3 separate regions of the Homo sapiens genome follow, and regions 1 and 3 are each linked to region 2. The links are contacts of gene promoters, found by promoter capture Hi-C in blood cells and fetal thymus (Javierre and others, 2016). All regions are on one chromosome and are shown on one strand. Each heading gives the region's core, a stretch centred on a gene start or on the middle of the fragment in contact. The rest is flanking DNA. Distances are from core to core; before and after follow the strand shown. Region 1 overlaps MYO16 (myosin XVI). Region 2 holds the start of LINC00676 (long intergenic non-protein coding RNA 676). Region 3 overlaps MYO16 (myosin XVI).

Region 1 (3,693 bases), core at 564-3,063, 730 kb before region 2:
TTTTAAAATTAATATCTCTGGTTTATCAATATATTAACCATTTTATGTGGTCTTGTAAACAACTGGCATAGTCACACATTGAAAGCAGAATCACTTGTTTTAAAAGACAATGCAAGATGAAGACCAGAGTTGTGCTAATGGAAATGCTATTTCAACTAGGTCAGAGAGAAGGGAGAACATGAATATTTGAAATAAGGCAAAGGCTTTCAAAAACCTTGGCTAAACATCAGAATGAAAATGCTCTGTTATGCTACATGCTGTTATTTGTAGATTCATCTCCATATGACATTCATACATAGGACTATTGGAAAATCATAAAAATACATTAGAGAGGCATGGGTTGTTTTTAATCCATCTATAATTTGGGGCATTTTAAAAGTATTAAATTATGTAGTCATCTTAATAGCACTGCATGAATAGTTTTATTAAGTATACCTAAAAACTAAGTGTTAATAAAGACAGTAGAAATACAACTCTCCTTATCAAACAGAGGAGAAAAGTCAACCTGTAGGAAGGTAAACATGAAAAAATAGAAAACCAAGCTACATTATAGTACGGGAAGAATTACAACTCCATAGCATTTGGGAGGAATTTTCATAGTTACGTAATTTGTTTAGCTTTATTTTCTTAAGGTGGTGTGGTAGGATAAACAATTAAATAGAATGTGTTTGAGATGCAAGTCTGTGACTTTTAGTAGCGTCGATTTCTTGGCCAAGATGAAGACTCTATAGTGAACTTTGGTTTTCTTGTTTGTAAAATCAGGTTAATAGACTTACAGAGTTCTGAGATTAAACATAATTAAACAGGTTCTCGTGTCAGTTACTCTCATACTGTATATGATTAAGAAATGATGGATACCTACCCGTTACTGTTGCAAATGGGAGCACTTTAATAACTTAAAAATTGGCCAATTTTATTTTTAGAAAAGCTCTGCATCATCCTGTGTTTAGATGTTAATTACGCTGACTTACCTAATCCAGGGTGAGTCAGCACGAACCACGTTCCTTACAAAACTTCACAAAATGTCTAGTTTGAACTAGAACTATAGAGGCAATAGATCTCTTCTCCTTTCATAGTTTTCTGTGGATTAATAGAAAAGGAGATACTTCATGTGTTTATTTTTATTGCTTACTGTGAGAAAAGTAATGATGAACATAAGGAAGAAAGCAGTTGAGTGTGACCAATAGAATATATGACAATATATGTGGGTCTGCAGGGTGCTTAAGAAGGTGCATCTCTCAGCTCAAGGGTTTGAAGCTGTCTGGCATCAGTAGAGATTCCTTATGTTATTATCTTAGAAAACAGGCAAGCTTTCATGTCTGCAATGAGAGTCACTGGTTTATCCATCTCCTGGTAAGCGACATGTAGAAATTACAGATGGAATGATGTCCTCTAAAGTCTGCTAGGGGACTTGCCTCACAAGCTGCAACTCCACACCCAGACATAATTGTCAATAGAGTGTCCTAATGATGAATACGTGCAAAACTTTTAAGTTATTTTCTTACTGAAACATATTTATTTTACTACAATTATATAAATCCCTTATTAGTCCTTCTTTTGCTAAATATTTTTATGATTTATTTTGGAATACATTTACAGCCTGAGATTTCTGTATAATAGTAATGGCATTTTTTTCACATCTAAAGAGCCAGTCTCTATTAAATGCCAAAAGCTAGCTTTAGGCATTTATGGGTAAAAATCTCAAGAACAATTCTGGGACTTAAATTTTGAAAAAAATTTGAAATACACACACACACACACACATATATATATATAATTTTTAACAGGTTTGCTTTGCTATTGTGTACAAAAGCAACTAGGAGTCATTTAGAAGAATAAAATTATTTCCATTGTGATGAGTGCAAATCTCATCTTATGATAAGTACAAATCTCATCTTTTGACGAGTGCAAATTTGCATGTAATTTTTTTTAAGACCATTGGTTTGAGCGATACATTTTAGATTTCTGTGTTGCTAACAGAAGCTGGACTTTTTGTCTTTTATTCCACTACAAACTTGCAACAAAATGCTTAACAAATCAATGCTGTATTCAGAATCAAACCTAGAAGAATATTAGTGCTTTTATAATATGTTTTTTATTCTGTTTTGCGCTTATTGACCCATCCATCAGTTCTTCACTCGAACGTCAACTCCTGCAGAGTTGAAATTGTGTCTGTGCTTTGTATATAATAAAAGTTCAACGAACATGTTTTCAATTGAAGTTTAAAGAAGAATAAACTCCTAAGAAAAAAGTCTTCATAGTGGATTTCATAGTGGTTCTTCTTGTTCAGGAATAAATGACAATTGTTCCTCCACAGGAAGCTTGACAATTGTTTAGAGTAGGGACACATTTGAGGAGATGTTAAGAAACACTCCAAAACTTCAGCATCTCCAACCTCAGTCTCCTCCAGTAGCTCCAAAAGATTAAATGGATTCTCATCTAAAAGATGAGATACTACAGCTAATAGGAAATTCTGATCGCATTTTCTCTGACTTTATCTTAGTCAGTTCAGGCAGCTAGAACAAAATACCTTAGAGGAGGTAATTGACAAACAGCAGAAATTTATCGCTCACAGTTCTGGAGGCCAGGAAATGTAAGATCAAGATGGCAGTGGACTTGGTGTCTGGTGAGGGCTCTCTGCTTCATAGATGCTGCCTTCTTGCCACATCCACTCATGAGGGAGGATCAAGGCAGCTCTCTGGGGCTTCCTTTATTAAGGGCACTAATCTCACTCGGGATGGTGGCGCCATTATGACCTAAATCGCCTCCCAAAGGCCCCACCTTCTAATCCCATCACTTTGGCAAATTGTGGAGGAACACATTCAGACCATAGCAGAATTAACGAATCATTTCTATTCAAAAGTATTTCTTTTTTTTATTATTATACTTTAAGTTTTAGGGTACATGTGCACAACATGCAGGTTAGTTACATAGGTATACATGTGCCATGTTGGTGTGCTGCCCCCATCAACTCGTCATTTAACATTAGGTATATCTCCAAATGCTATCCCTCCCCCCTCTCCCCACTCCACAACAGGCCCTGGTGTGTGATGTTCCCCTTCCTGTGCCCATGTGTTCTCATTGTTCAATTCCCACCTATGAGTGAGAACATGCGGTGTTTCGTTTTTTGTCCTTGCGATGGTTTGCTGAGAATGATGGTTTCCAGCTTCATCCATGTCCCTACAAAGGACATGAACTCATCATTTTTTATGGCTGCATAGTATTCCATGGTGTATATGTACCACATTTTCTTAATCCAGTCTATCATTGATGGACATTTGGGTTTGTTCCAAGTCTTTGCTATTGTGAATAGTGCATCTCACACCAGTTAGAATGGCGATCATTAAAAATCAGGAAGCAACAGGTGCTGGAGAGGATGTGGAGAAATAGGAACACTTTTACACTGTTGGTGGGACTGTAAACTAGTTCAACCATTGTGGAAGTCAGTGTGGCGATTCCTCAGGGATCTTGAACTAGAAATACAGTTTGACCCAGCCATCCCATTACTGGGTATATACCCAAAGGATTATAAATCATGCTGCTATAAAGACACATGCACATGTATGTTTATTGCGGCACTATTCACAATAGCAAAATTATTTCTTATAATAAGTACAATACTAGTGTAAAAAATATAGTTCACATAGCTCAGCAGTAATTTGGTACTTCCAGTGGTACTTTTCAGTGTGTGGA
Region 2 (3,480 bases), core at 98-2,597:
ATAAGTGACCCACTGCAGAACAGACAGCTGGACATATGGACATATGCAGCTGCCTGTCATTTATACACGAGAGTTAAACAGTTGGCAAAGAGAGTCTGGGCCACAGAGTGGTGAGCTGGCTAGAGGTGCGGATCTAGCCATTGGATAACACTGTACTTAAAACACAAAACTCTATCCAAGAAGAGGAAATGATTGAATACGAAGTATTTGAAAAAAGATTTGAAAGACTGAAAATGAAACACTTCCTTACATTCGCTAAGTGAGCTGAGAAAGAATTGCCCAGAAGGGTGATACGGAGGGCTAGAGAATGAAGACGACAGGGAGTGGAAGGAGAGAGCCCACCTACATGGCACCCAGCTTTGCAGAGGCTCCTGAAGACACAAGGTTGAAGGCCCTGGACTCAAAAATTTCCTTGACTCTGCCAGGCAAGAGGGTTAGCTGTTTCAGCAGAGGGTAGAGCCAAGCGAAAGCTGGAGAGTGAATAAGAAATGCTAGGAGCAATTGCGTCAGGTGGGGCAACCAGGACTGTGTTTGCCTTCGGACCAGGGCTGCCGAGTACAGATAGCAGGTGGTTTATGTGAGGCCTGGAGCAGGGGTCATTGCAGGAGACGGGGTTGCTGTGTGCCTATAAATGGAGTGAAAAAGTGAGTGCAAAGAAATGGAAAAGTTAGGAGATGCAGCATAACCTGTGAATCATGATCCCTGACAAAGTGGGGAGGCTCATGGGTGCAGGTGTAGGTGTGTGTGTGTGTGTGTGTGTGTGTGAGATCACATGGCTGTGGACAGAGGTGGGCTGGAACCCCTAACTTCCAGGAAACTCCAGGTTCTTTTCTTCTTCTACCCATAGGTCTGCATTGTGTTTTTCTAGGGTCACTCATCTATTCATCCAACAAATATTCAACAAGCACCTGTTACATACCAGATTATTACATACATGTGGCAGTGCACGTAACTGTGAAGCTGTGTACTACAGCTGCAGGGCGAGGACTGGGGCTTTAGCTCCCACCTTGTGCAATGTGGGATCTTCTCCATCGTCATATCAAGCCACCCCACGTGTATTTAATGTAAGTTGGAACACTGTGCTTGCTACAAAAGTCAGCTTCAGAAGAAGCCCCTCCGTGGATCACCACCTCCCTACAAGCTGCAGTCCTAATCTCCTATGTCAAAATCAGGGACTGCTGCTGCCCCGGGGGGTTTAGAGATGAAGACCCAGACTCTGACTGAGGAGTCTCCCAGTGAAAGGAAGGAGGCAGAAGCCCAGTCACCAGTGACGCCACCCAGCTGAGTGGACCGCGCAGAGGGAGGCGGACGCAGGGCACTCCAACATGGACCTGAGAGGCACACACTGCAATGCAAATCCTCCACGATAGTCCACAGGATGTACTGGGAGAAACTGGAAGGCCACAGGAGAAACGTTTGCTCACGAAAACACAGGCATTTCATGTGCCTGGAGCACGGGATGAAGAATTCCTTAGACTTTGAGTGCCAAGCTAGTGCTTGGACTTTCTTCTAAAGGTCATGGGTGAGCCCTTGGGGAATGTGGAGACCACTCCGGCCTGCGATGGAGAAGGAAATTGTGCCAGAAGCTGGGAAGTCAAAGTTAACCCTCCAGGCTAGATGTAAGTAACGCGTGGGGCTGCACATACGGCTGTGGCAGAGGAAATGGGACAGAGGGATTGATTTTAGTACAGAAATCCTAATTGGGCTTAAAGTAGGTATGGGAAAACCCCTGAAAGTGTGTGCTGATCTTGGTATGTGCAGATATTATTTTCCTCCTGGGGTAAACTTTAATTCTCAAAGGAGTCTATGACCCCCAAAAAAGTCATCTCCCTACTTGAAAGATGCTTGAGTGTCTAATGGCCAGGAGCGGGTGTTGGTGGGATACCAAGCGGTGGGAGGAACACAGTATCGTCCTCAAGCCTCTGACTTCTCCTAGACAGGGTAGCTAAGAGGACTTTTCAGATATGTTGCTTTTGAGGTGTCTGTGAGGAGAGGGAGGCAGGAAACGCAGGCACACGCACTCACAGTGGACGCGTCTTTAGAAAGCTGCACATTCTCTAATTGAGTTAATTGTTCACGCACTGAATGGAGCTGTTTCTGCTCAAGCTAGGGAAAGACTTGTCAGCTGTTTCTTCACTTCCATGACCTTGGAAAATCCGCTGTCTCCACCAGACACTGATCCTTGGCACAGCCACTATTTGATACACTTAACTCTGCTCAGGATTTTAGATCTCAACCCAGGAAATGAGCTACAGTCTCACCCCAGGCAAGTACAGAACATTTTCCTAACCAGGAGAGACGCCTGTGTCACACATTCCAAAGGTAGCCAGCAGCTAAGAAAGCCGCAACAAAGGAAATCAAACAGCTCTCTCTCCCCTAAACGCTGCTTTCAGGCAAGTTCCAAACAAAAATGGAGGATGCACTGCAAATTAAAAACAAAAGCCTGCCAGTCAAAGGCAGTGTTTTTAAACACAGAAAGAGCAATACCACTGCAGGGGGCAGATAAAAGAGCTTTTGAGCATCTCAGAAGCTACTCACACACAAAAGCACCTCTGTGCCTTCAAACAGGATCTCCTAGAAGTTTCCCAAGGTTTCATAACCCAAATACCGCTGGTAGTGATGTGGTTTGGAAATTAACCTTGCTTTTCTCCCCACTGCTGTTTTACATATTAATTAAAGTGTTTTCCTCAGATCAGGAACGCCTGCAGGCTGGCTAGGTTCTGCAGAAGGTGCCTCATTTTCCTGCCGCTTCCCGCCCCGGCCCCACTTGTGCATAGTTCAATGATTAAAACTTCCCCAGGTCAGCTGTAGACGCCTCCCCTCCCTTAACTGCCATCGTGATATAGAACACACACTTTAATGTGGCTTTTAAAAAGTAATCGCTTCCCCACCCCCCAAGAAAGATAGGTCGTGCAGAGCTAATTTCGGGAAGCCATTTAGAAGAAATTGTTGAGAAGGCATTGAAGTATTTGGGTCCAACTCTGCTTACCTCATTCATGGACCTGTTTCTTTTCTTTTTTTTCTTTTCCAGTGCTTGAAATAGGTGTGCAAACAATTCACATATTATAAATACGTTGACTTGGGCCGGGTGTGGTGGCTCACGCCTGTAATCCCAGCACTTTAGGAGGCTGAGGCAGGAGGATTACTTGAGGTCAGGAGTTCCAGACAAGCCTGGCCAACATTGCAAAACCCTCTCTCTACTAAAGTACAAAAATTAGCCGGGCAAGGTGGTCCGTGCCTGTAATCTCAGCTACTCAGGAGGCTGAGGCAGGAGAATCGCTTAAACCCAGGAGATGGAAGTTGCAATGAGGCGAGATCACAACAACCCACTCCAGCCTGGGCGACAGAGCAAGACCCTGTCTCAAATAAATAACTAAAATGAAAATAAATAAATTGATTTGTTTTCATTCATATATTTTGGGGATACAATGGAGCTTAAAGTTTGAAAACCAAAACGGAGCTGGCCACCAAAGGTGTGGA
Region 3 (3,527 bases), core at 862-3,361, 600 kb before region 2:
AGGAGAAGCCCAGGATCTGAGGGAGCCACCAGCACCCTCCCTGAGAAAGCGGGGAGTGTCCCGTTGCCACTGTTCCTACTTTCAGGCCTCCATGTTAGATTTGCGGCCCATATCTCAAAAAGGTGTGATTAGAATAACAAGAAAGATTTTTGGCAGCTTGCGTGAGGAAGATGGTATCTAAAATGCTAAGACCGATAAGATGGAGAGGGTACGAAATTAAGACTCCAGATAGTACCAGACATTGAAAAAACAGTAATGAAATGTGATTGAAAATTGCAGCAAGTACAGAATGGAGCCCCATCCGAGCTTGAACCCTGCAAACAGGCTCTAGAAAGTTGCATAAATAGGCTTCAGAATACCTTGTAACATCTAGAAAAAGCTAAAGGTTTGTGTGCACCTTAAAACACCACTGCCCTGGAGTAATGAGGGGACCACTTTGTCACATGTTATGAAGGGGGATCAAATAGGAAGAAGCTGACCTCAGAGAGCTCTCTCCTATGGGCAGCAAAAAAAAAAAAAAAGTCAATTAAAATAAAAGTTAGGAACCATAGGAGATATATATACACACACACACACACATATGTATATATCTATACACACACATAATATGAAAGCAAAGTGACCCCAAAAAAGATTAATAAAGAAGACAGCTATCATAACTCTTAAATTCCTTATTACATGCTATCAAAATACATCATGTGATAGCATTAGGCATGCAAGATATTTATGTAAAATTTAGTTTCTTGGATCCTAATTTTGTCTCATATGTGACTATAAGGTACTTAGAGATGCGTTTGGTCCACTGTGTCGCACCCTGGTGAGCAGACCTTTCAGAAGCTTGTCAAAGGGCAAGTGTATGCATTGTTTCCTTTTTACCATCTACATTATCTGTTCTTTCTTACAGTACATAATTCTTCATGCTGGTTACTTTACAACCACCACCACAAAAAGAAAGTCTTTGATCTCCTGCAACTAGAGATGTATTTCTGCATTCTGGCATGTGCTCTCAATACTGTATATTTTTAAGAATAAGACAATTAACCAGCTTAAGCTGCTTGAGCATGCTTGCTGATTAGTTTTTACAGCATTAGGGAGTCAGAGAGGGCAAGCGCAGGAGCTTAGCCACTCAGTCTGTCAGTGGTCTGGGTTTGTAATCCATGATCGCAAAGGTAGCTCCACCCACACGTGATAAGCCAGCTGTCAGACAGGGTTCTGGTCCCTTCTGTGCCATTATGTCAGGAGCTGAAGGTGGTTGAGTTAGGACAGTGATGAAATTGATCCTAGCATGTTAGACATCTCCCTCAGTCCAACACAATCCGAGTATAATCTAAGTCTTTGTTGTTCAATGCAGTAGCCACTAGGCACACGTAGCCAATTAAGTTTAGAGTAAATAAAATTAAATACAATTTTAAATTTCATTCCTCCATCATCAGTCACTTTCCAAGTACTCAGTAGCCACAGGGGTAGAATTTTTCCATCATCACCGAAGCTTCTCTTAGACAACCCTGATTCTAAATGCTTTGTGTGTCTACCAAGCGGTGATACTGAATTTTTTGCATCTAGTAACGTGTCACAAAATTATTCTCCTTTCTGTCAAAAGATAGGAAGACCATTTGATCACTATTCTAAAATGTTTGGTGAACCTTGGTTTCGCAGGATCAAGGACTACGGCTGAAGTTGGTTTTGTACCTGAGCCATCCTTTTTGGCATGTTAAAAAATCAAGTTCAAGTTCTTTTCCTTTACAAATAAAGCTGCGAATCAATTCAGATGGTTACAGAGTGAAAGGAGATCTGATCGGAGACCAAGGGCCAAGGATTGTAGGGTGACCAGCACCACGGTCACTTCAAAGTTGTCTTTGTATTTATTCTTGTTCTTACTAGCATATGTCTTTCCTGGTAGGTCTTCACCCAATAAAAATGGTTGTGGTGAAGGAAAACAGTACAGAGAGCAATTTTTTCTCATTTCCTTTGTGCCTCAAAAGCGTGAAACAATTTTGCAGGCCAATAAATGTTAACACTTCTTTGCAAACTACCAGCAAGCTAGAGACAACTTTTTTTTTTATTATACTTTAAGTTTTAGGGTACATGTGCACAACGTGCAGGTTTGTTACATATGTATGCATGTGCCATGTTGCTGAGACAACTTTTTAAAAGTACTATGTTTTTGTTAGGTCAGTGCAAAAGGAATTGTGGTTTTTGCCATTGAATAAAAGCCTGCAGTTGCTCTTTGCAAATAGTGGCTAGGAAAGGAAAGATAGGGCCTCGTTTTCACTTCCTCTTGGCTGGGGCCTCCCAGCTGGAGTGCTGTTCTGCAGAGTTCATTCCTCACACACCGGGTGCAGCCTTTCTCCCAAAGACGGTTAACATTCTCTCGAATTGTCTCCTGACTGAAGTTAAATATAAGCCTGCATTTCATGCGTGTGACTTTGAAGAAGTGACTCAGTCTTTCCAAGCCCATGTATGTCAAGTAGCAGCAACAGCCGAGACATGGCAAGGGCTATTTCTGGGGAGTTAAGAAGCAAAGGACTGTAAAGCCTCATTGCCCAGGACGTAGCAAGCGCACAGCAAAGTTACATGCATATAACTTTGTTGTTAATGAAGCCTCTGACAGTCAGTTTCCTCATCTGTGAAATGGATACTAAATCCTAAGATGTGGGACTTGCAATTAAGTCATGATGTCAGTGGTGCTGTGCCTGGCTTGGAGTGACGGTTGCTCAAGGTGAAATTGCAGAAGCAAGCTTTTCTCAGGCAGCTCTAGTCCTCACTGTTCACCGTTCTATGTTGATGCTTCCACACTCACCCTCCCTTCAGACTCCAGCTGTCCCCTCCTTGGGGATCATACCTTAATGAAACCATAATTGTTTTTTCCAAAATTGCTGTACAACTGCATTCTCCACAAAACACAGTTTACATGTGTAGACACAATCATGGCTCAGCTCTGTGGCTTAATTTGGAAATAATATGTCTTTTCTTTACTCTCTTGTTTCTGTCTTCATTCTAGAACAACATGTGTCACATAGTAAGCACTCATCAAATACTTACCAAGTGAATACATGTTACAGAAATCTATTTCTCTACACTCTCTTCATTAAAAGAGAATTTGCTTCCTATCGGTATATGAGAGGGAGCACAATTTGGCAAGGTTCGAGAAGTACCCTTGAAATGTGTCAAGGCTAGATTTGTCTGCATATTTTTAACAGAAGCCCTTTAAAAAAATTTTAAATGGACAGAAATTAGGTCTTCTGTGTTGCTCTTCTGAGAAATGTGTTACTGGGAATAACAGAACACAATTGCACAGTTCACCACCTATGACGCAGTTGTACATCCAACAAATAGTAATTAAGTGTCTTCCATGAGCCTGGATTCTCCCCGAGGATCTGACAGACCAGTAGGAGAGATAAGTGGTCAAACAAATTATAGGGGAAGCACAACCACAGCAGTGAGGACGTGATGGGTGCACACTGGGCCACAGAGTGCCTTGCCCTCCGTGGAAACTGCGAAAGGCTCAGGAAGGGCATGCCAACAGC

What was found. The method cuts DNA at HindIII sites, captures the fragments that hold promoters and counts their contacts. A CHiCAGO score of 5 or more calls a contact.
Region 1: a fragment that was not itself captured here is called in contact with the fragment with the promoter of LINC00676 in region 2 in 1 of 17 cell types (endothelial precursors); the score reaches 5.5 in endothelial precursors.
Region 3: a fragment that was not itself captured here is called in contact with the fragment with the promoter of LINC00676 in region 2 in 1 of 17 cell types (monocytes); the score reaches 5.0 in monocytes.

Annotation. Positions count from the first base shown.
Region 1 is chr13:108,992,572-108,996,264 of GRCh38, forward strand. All of the region lies in intron 21 of MYO16 (myosin XVI), which reads left to right. Among named protein-coding and RNA genes, the nearest start is that of MYO16-AS2, 110 kb to the right of the region's middle. The HindIII fragment of the contact is 1,011 bases long and covers 1,309-2,319 here.
Region 2 is chr13:109,726,927-109,730,406 of GRCh38, forward strand. LINC00676 (long intergenic non-protein coding RNA 676) reads left to right here and starts at 1,348. Exons shown (of 3, transcript NR_103846.1): 1 at 1,348-1,619; 2 at 2,107-2,266; 3 at 3,032-3,108. The HindIII fragment of the contact is 6,623 bases long and covers 1-3,480 here.
Region 3 is chr13:109,129,476-109,133,002 of GRCh38, forward strand. The region is part of intron 31 of MYO16 (myosin XVI); the gene reads left to right. Among named protein-coding and RNA genes, the nearest start is that of MYO16-AS2, 29 kb to the left of the region's middle. The HindIII fragment of the contact is 1,249 bases long and covers 1,488-2,736 here.